Linked DNA regions of Homo sapiens: region 1 is linked to region 2. The links are contacts of gene promoters, found by promoter capture Hi-C in human tissues and cell types (Jung and others, 2019). All regions are on one chromosome and are shown on one strand. The core of a region is centred on a gene start or on the middle of the fragment in contact, and the rest is flanking DNA. Distances in the headings are between cores, read along the strand shown.

Region 1 (3,412 bases), core at 842-3,341, 51 kb before region 2:
TTTGAGCTCCACATAATTCTTGGAGATCCTCACATCAAAGACTCCCTCTTGGTTTTCCTCTTTGTCTCCCTTGCATCTTCCTCTACTCACACCCCTGCTGTCTGGCCAGCCTTACTTATCAGGGAGAGCAGGAAGAGAGGATTCATGGGCAGGAAAACTCACTGTTTGCTCCATCTTCGTAGTCCTGGGGTGTGGCCCAAAACCTTGGTTGATAGATTTGTAAAAAGACCTTTATCTTGAGAATATTGTTGCTTTGTGAATTTCCACAGTCTCCTTGAAATTCAAAAGCTGAGCATAACTATTTCTTTTTCTTTGCATTTCAGCCATAGCAATCCTAATAGCCCCTAGGACAATGAGTGTCTCAGGCTGAATGGAAGAGGGTCATATACATGCAAGGGGATGGGAATTTAATATCTCTAAATATCATCCTACCAACACATGTATATGTAAATAGATTTATAACTATATGGTCATTTGTATAAGGATAACCTAATAATATCAAAGGACAGGTTCATTTTAAATTAAAACTATAGGGAAGAGTGTTGATTCTACACCAATAACAAAAAGGTTAAAGAAAGTGTAATTCTCTTTTAAGTACCAGATGCTTCAGACTGTGCCTCTCATTTTCAGCCTTCTTCTCCCCTTTTCCTGTCTCTGCCTTTCTCCTCTCTGCCTTTTATTGAAAGGCAAATGCCCCTTGTAATAAGGTTCAATTTCAGAAGTTCCTGTTATACCCCACTCCCATAGCATTCATAAAAAAAGCAGAGACCGTAGTTATAATTTGCTGGGAACCCTAAAAGAGAAGTGAGACAACTCACTGAAGAATCCTCAAATAACACGAAGACGTGAAAAAATATAGCTGGTGCTTCTCTGGCTTATGTAGGAAGAATCAAAGCAACCATGAAATTAATTTTATTTACCATTAAAAGATACTGGACTTAGAATTCAGGTTGTGATTATGTAATTATAAATTAATTTCAGTAGCATTGTATAATCTGAAATGCCAGCAATAGTTATGAGAAGTATGTTAATGAGGATCAGAAAAGCTTGTCTGCTTGAATGTACCTCAAAATAGTCATGCCCAGAGAGTATATATGAAGCCTCCTGCAGCAAGTGGACCCACTGTGGTTTCCTAAGACTCTCCAATGCATGTGATCAGTTTACTAGGAAGCAGCTCTCTTTAATATGTTCATACTTAACAGAAAAGGAAGGACCAGAAGGTTGCCCATAGGCTGCACCCAAGTGTGAAATAAACATTATTATTACAGCAGTTGAAATGTGAAGTTGAAGAACATTTTAATTTCAAAATAGTATTCATGAGAATCAGATGACACATCTATACTTTAACTCTGGTGAAGTGTGAAAATTAAATGAACACTCCGTCAGATTCTGAAAGTTGAATTATGACCCCCACCTCCCTCACTAAAGAGATATTTTTTCATATTTAGGGTGGCATACCTCATTTGTGGAAAAGGTCTTTCTGGCACTCATCCCCTGTTTCTCAATTTATTGTAGCCATCTTATTAATCACTGTGTTTGCTGGGGAAGAGCCAAAGTATACCTAAATCTAGAATTAAACTATATAGCACTAGGGTTTAAAATAATAGAATTTGTCATCAAGTTGACTGCCTCATATTCATCCAGTGTCAAACTCAATAGTTGATATGTTTGCTTATGCAAAAATATCAGAGAGGAAAAGAAAATTTTAATTTGTAATGGATCTATTTCTCATAAAATGTCATTCCTGCCGCTCTGCTCTTTAGCACATGATGAGGGGAAGCTGAGGCAGCTTCTATTGTAAAGGAAGACCCAAGGAGGTGCCATTTTAGGGGACCTTCAGTCTCCACCCAGTTCAGGGGATTCACATGAGCCTCCCTGCATATATGGGCGTGTCCCATCACTGCTTCTTCTGCTTGGAAGCCCACAAAGATGGTTTGCTATCCTAGTACCTCAGGTCTTGATGGAAGAAGGCCTTGGTGTGTTCTTAATTATATCCTTTGCCTCAGATGTTTTGTTGTCAGTGTTTCACTCTTCCCAGTCAGGTTTTAGGGCTGCTACCAGTCTCTCCATGAAATAGAAACCCCCTAATGTGCTGTTCTGCTGAACTTCCTCATTGACTGACCTTGTACTATGATGTCTTTCTTCCTGGGGTCAGTGGGTACGGGATAAAGCCTCTAAGCAGGGTTGCCCATATGGTTGTGTATGTTTGGATTACCCCACAGCTCTGGACGGCACCATTCACACTGTGGTCATTGTCGATTTAAATATGTATTATGGCCATTTTATGGAGATGGTAGTAAAGGGTCTTGATGAAGACATACCTTTTTCTGGTTTGCACACAAAAAATTAAACACAAGGTAGCAATGGCCTGCCCTGATGTTGAAAGCAAGACTCTGGCAACAGGCTAGGTGGGTTCTACCCCTTACTAGCTGTGTGACCTTGGGCTAGTCACATAATCTCAGTTTTATCATCTGTAAGATGGGAATAATAATAGTACATCATAGGCTATTAGGATTAAAGAAATTATGTATGCCAAGGACTAAGTACAGAGCCTGACGCATGGTGAATGCTCAGTATATGGCAGCTGTCACAATGTGGCCCATTTGTGTCCTTCCATATAGATAGATCATTTTCCAATTTCCAATTACTTTCTACACATCCTCTCTTAACATAAAATGACTTTCAAGCCCATTACTACAAGACTTATTACAGGGGACCTATGGACTTGTGATTTGAATCGTAATTAGTATTAATTTAATAGTCTCTTCACAGAGTTAGACTAATATGTCAGGTGACACAGTGTCTTAGCCCAGCCACACACATTGATATGACTCTGATGATGGCCTGCCTCTCAGTGAAGTCAGAGCAGGGGGTACAAGGACTCAGGCAATAGACAAGAGAGAAAAGAAAGATTAAAGCTTACTGTTTATAGTGTTTTCCACACAAGGTATCATCCCTGACAAGTCTTTCTATGCCATGGCATTGATTATTAGAAGAAAGACTCGTAAAAACCTCTAGGCAGGTCAGATTTTGGCAGACTTAAAGATTATGCAGACAAGAGTAGGGGTCAGGGAGTCTTATCTGAGAGCTGCCGGGTACTTTATGTGTGTTTCAGGACAGGGCTGACCACAGTGTTGGCTGTGGAAGGTGGGGGCTGGAAACCTCTGCTGACAGTGATCTTATCTTTCCCATGTGATAGTTTCATTAATGACTGCCTTCACCTGCTCTTTTTCCAGTATGTTGCACTCCAATGTAATTTCTGTCCGTTATCAGGCCTTGATGTCATCTATGCCCTGAAATTGTGTTATTGAACTAACACTCATTGTCAAACCTTTACGAGATAAACCTATTTTATTTCTCCTCATCCTAAAAATGTGTTGATTCTCCTGTGCTGTGTATAATGAATGGCCCT
Region 2 (3,351 bases), core at 564-3,063:
AAAAATATATATGAGTCATAACATTAGGAATTATGACATCTAAAATCAATGTTGTATACTTAGCAAGTTGTTTTTGGAGCCATTTATTACATATCAACACTTTTTTCATTTTTGGAAAAGCCTTGATCCTCTCTTCTCGCTTTCAAATCACCTCATGCTCTAATCTGAAATTATACTTGGACACTGTTTTTTTGTTTTTTGTTTGTTTTGGAGATGGAGTCTCACTCTGTTGCCCAGGCTGGAGTGCAATGGCACAATCTCGGCTCACTGCAACCTCTGCCTCCCGGGTTCGAGCAATTCTCCTGCCTCAGCCCCCCGAGGAACTGGGATTTCAGGTGTGTGCCACCACACCCAGCTAATTTTGTATATTTAGTAGAGACGGGGTTTCACCACGTTGGCCAAGCCGATCTCGAACTCCCGACCTGAGGTGATCTGCCCGCCTCGGCCTCCCAAAGTGCTGGAATTACTGGCGTGAGCCACCGCGCCCGGCCTGGATGCTGTTTTGACAACAGTGTTTATTTTCAGGTCTGGAGTTATCCAATGGCCATTCATTTGAACGAACATTTTAGTCTATGAGGGGAAAAAAGTCATAGTCTCTTATCTGTTAGTAATAAACGATTCTGTTCTCCAGACTGATACGCGTTCAGTAATTTGTGCTTTTATCAGGCATCGACACATGCATACTAAGAGCACAAATTCAGCGCCCTTCTTTTGCTTAAGCCTCCTGGGAGAAGCTAAAAAACTTGTTCCCAGTTGAACACTGCAAACCCAAATTTTCCTTACCTCTGAAAACAGAAAAAAAGACATGGTTTGGCAATTTCTTCCTTGATAGCTTTTCCCACAACGCAGCCACCTCCTAAACGCAGGCAATCTGTGCAAAACGCAGAGGAAACAAAATCATGAAAGCCCTGCAAATCTCCCTCCTAAATCCAACATTAAGAAGGCGAACGGATACTGAATTCAAAGACTACCCGTACTTGAGGATGGCATCATTCCTTACTGCTTGGAAAAGTGAGACTCCGTTGCACCTCTAGGAATCTTTTTAAAACGCCCTGTATGTTCCTTAACACTGCCTGTAGGAATCCTGTAGCCCTAGCCCCGTGGGATTTCCTTCTCTCTCCGCCCGTTCTCCACATTCCCCACTTAGTTTCACATTCCTTCCCAATCCCTCCGACATCCCTGCGCCGGGGCCCTTCCCTAGCGCTCCGGGAAAGCGTTCGCCGCAGGCCTGTTAGGGGCCCACCAATACCGTAACACCGTTCCCGTCCTCTTCCTCGGCACCGCTGCAAACGCCCCGGGTCGCTACCCGGATTTGACGGTGGCTGGAGCGGCACGGGCGACGCAAGGCAGGTATTGCACCCTGGGGCAAGGCAAGGTGGACAACCAGCGGATGCGGCGCGGCCGCGGCCTGGGCCTGGGCCCTCCGCGTCGCCCACTGCCCCACTGGGCCCCTTCTCCCGCGCTCACCGGAGGCGGGCAGCTGCTCGTCACCGAGACCCGAGACCCACGGTGCGGCGGCTCAACCTGGGCCACGCTCCGCTCTAGAGGAGTGGGCGGTGCCTCCCGGCCTAGCTGCCGGGGTCTAGGCGTTTCCGAGGACGGCGCGTTCCGGGAAAGGCGGGTCCGGTGGCTATACCCTCCACCCAGTGGCAGGACTCAACCGCCTCGGAGACCCTGCAGGGCCGCCCTTCTCACTCACCTCCTGTGCTCGGCGCGCACCCAGCTCGGAAGCGGGAAGGTGGCCGGCGTTCTCTCCCTGCGCACACACGCAGCCTCCCCGCATCCGCACGCACGGCCGGGCGCGCGCAGACCACGCGCCAGGGCCGCGGCCGGAAGCCCCTGGCTGCACGCGCGGGCCCAGGCGGCCCCCAGCCCTGTGAGCTCGCATGGCGCGCCCTCTGGGTCCTCGCGGTCACCTTGCATTCCGAGCACGGCCGTGTTATGTATGCCTTTAGTTGATGCTGGCCAAAATTAGACAACTTAGTGGCAGACGTCGAGCTAGAATTTTTGTTTGAGATCCTTTTTCCCTGGTCGTCTTTCCAAACTGCGTGAGTGCATGGCCTCGAGGCGGCCCTGGAGGGATTTTCTTGTTAAACTTCATACAGAACTAATTAGGAAAGAGGAAATCTTAGGAGGAGTTCTTTGCTGTCTCAGAAGAAATGCCAGTTCTTCTTCCGGAATCGATGGGGAATGGAATGGGGGTAAGAGAGACACGTCAGGTTTCAATGGCCTGTGTATGGATGGGAGTCCCAGGGAGTTGCTTTTGTACACCTGAGCATAGCTGACCTAAACTCCCAGATCCATCTCCTCAAACTCCTTTTACCAAGATGTGCAGTATTGATTGTACTGGTCCTTTCCTCAAAATCAAGTGGGTCTGGATCATGTATTTAACCACTACCAAGCTCAGCCATGAGCACCACCCCTGATTGTAACCCACACATTTGCATCAAGACTAAACGTGGCCCACCATTTCTTTTTGTTTACTGACTCTTTGGCCTGACTGCTTCTTCCTTATAGCCTTTTTCTGCAAAATTACTTAGGATAGTTTGAAGGTTCTCTGAAAATAATAGGGGTGAATATAGAGATCAAAATGGATATACAACAAAAGTAAGTTTAGATAGTAGCAGTGTAAGTCAAGGACTTAGTTGACACTGCATAAATAATCAGATCTAAATTATAATAATCAGATCTAAATTATGGTTGAGATTGTTTTCCTGGTTCCAGCCTTGGCAGGTAGCTGTGTCCTTTGCAGAGGGTAAAGTGATTGCTGCCCTGCTGCACGCCTTTATCACAGCCATTCTTCACCCTACCTGGGCTGACAGTTCACCTCACTAAGTCAAGGAGGTCCATTAATAACAAAACCAGACAGGTTTCACTGCAGATAGATTAATATGCTGAAAAAATAGACCTCTTATTTGGAAGAATGCTTTAGGGCATTAATACTATATTTTACAAATTCCGTTTCTTAAAATTTTAGAAAAGTTGTATTTCAATACTCATTTTTAAAATGTTTTGAATGTCCTTTGAGTAACCAGCAGGTATATGTGCTCATAGCTGCCAAAACTTCCCTGGAATGCAAAGCAGAGCCATGGACAACAGATTGGGGTAAGAAATTCTCCTAAATGAAGTAAGTGAGACAAAAAGGCCCAAAACCTTTATGAGATTATTTCCTTTGAAGCAGTCTCCTTTTTCTTTGTGTAGCATTTATCAGCTTGTGATTGAGTCATCTATTGCTGCAGATCGAACTCTCCCAAAATATAGTTGCTTGCAAAAATGTCAATTTAATATTTCTCATAATTCTGAAGGTTGGTTATGTGGTTCCTCTCTGGTTTTGATTTGGCTCACTCGTAT

What was found. Contacts are between HindIII fragments. The study calls those that stand out against the background at their distance.
Region 1: a contact is called between a fragment that was not itself captured here and the fragment with the promoter of B3GALNT1 in region 2, in 1 of the 25 tissues and cell types used here (thymus).

Annotation. Positions count from the first base shown.
Region 1 is chr3:161,052,241-161,055,652 of GRCh38, forward strand. All of the region lies in intron 2 of PPM1L (protein phosphatase, Mg2+/Mn2+ dependent 1L), which reads left to right. Among named protein-coding and RNA genes, the nearest start is that of B3GALNT1, 51 kb to the right of the region's middle. The HindIII fragment of the contact is 5,452 bases long and covers 1-3,412 here.
Region 2 is chr3:161,103,536-161,106,886 of GRCh38, forward strand. It overlaps B3GALNT1 (beta-1,3-N-acetylgalactosaminyltransferase 1 (Globoside blood group)), which reads right to left and starts at 1,814. Exons shown (of 5, transcript NM_003781.4): 1 at 1,700-1,814; 2 at 784-871. LOC124909453 (a long non-coding RNA gene) reads left to right here and starts at 1,146. Exons shown (of 2, transcript XR_007096147.1): 1 at 1,146-1,350; 2 at 3,036-3,351. RefSeq lists silencers at 1,369-1,618, 1,629-1,718. The HindIII fragment of the contact is 8,350 bases long and covers 1-3,351 here.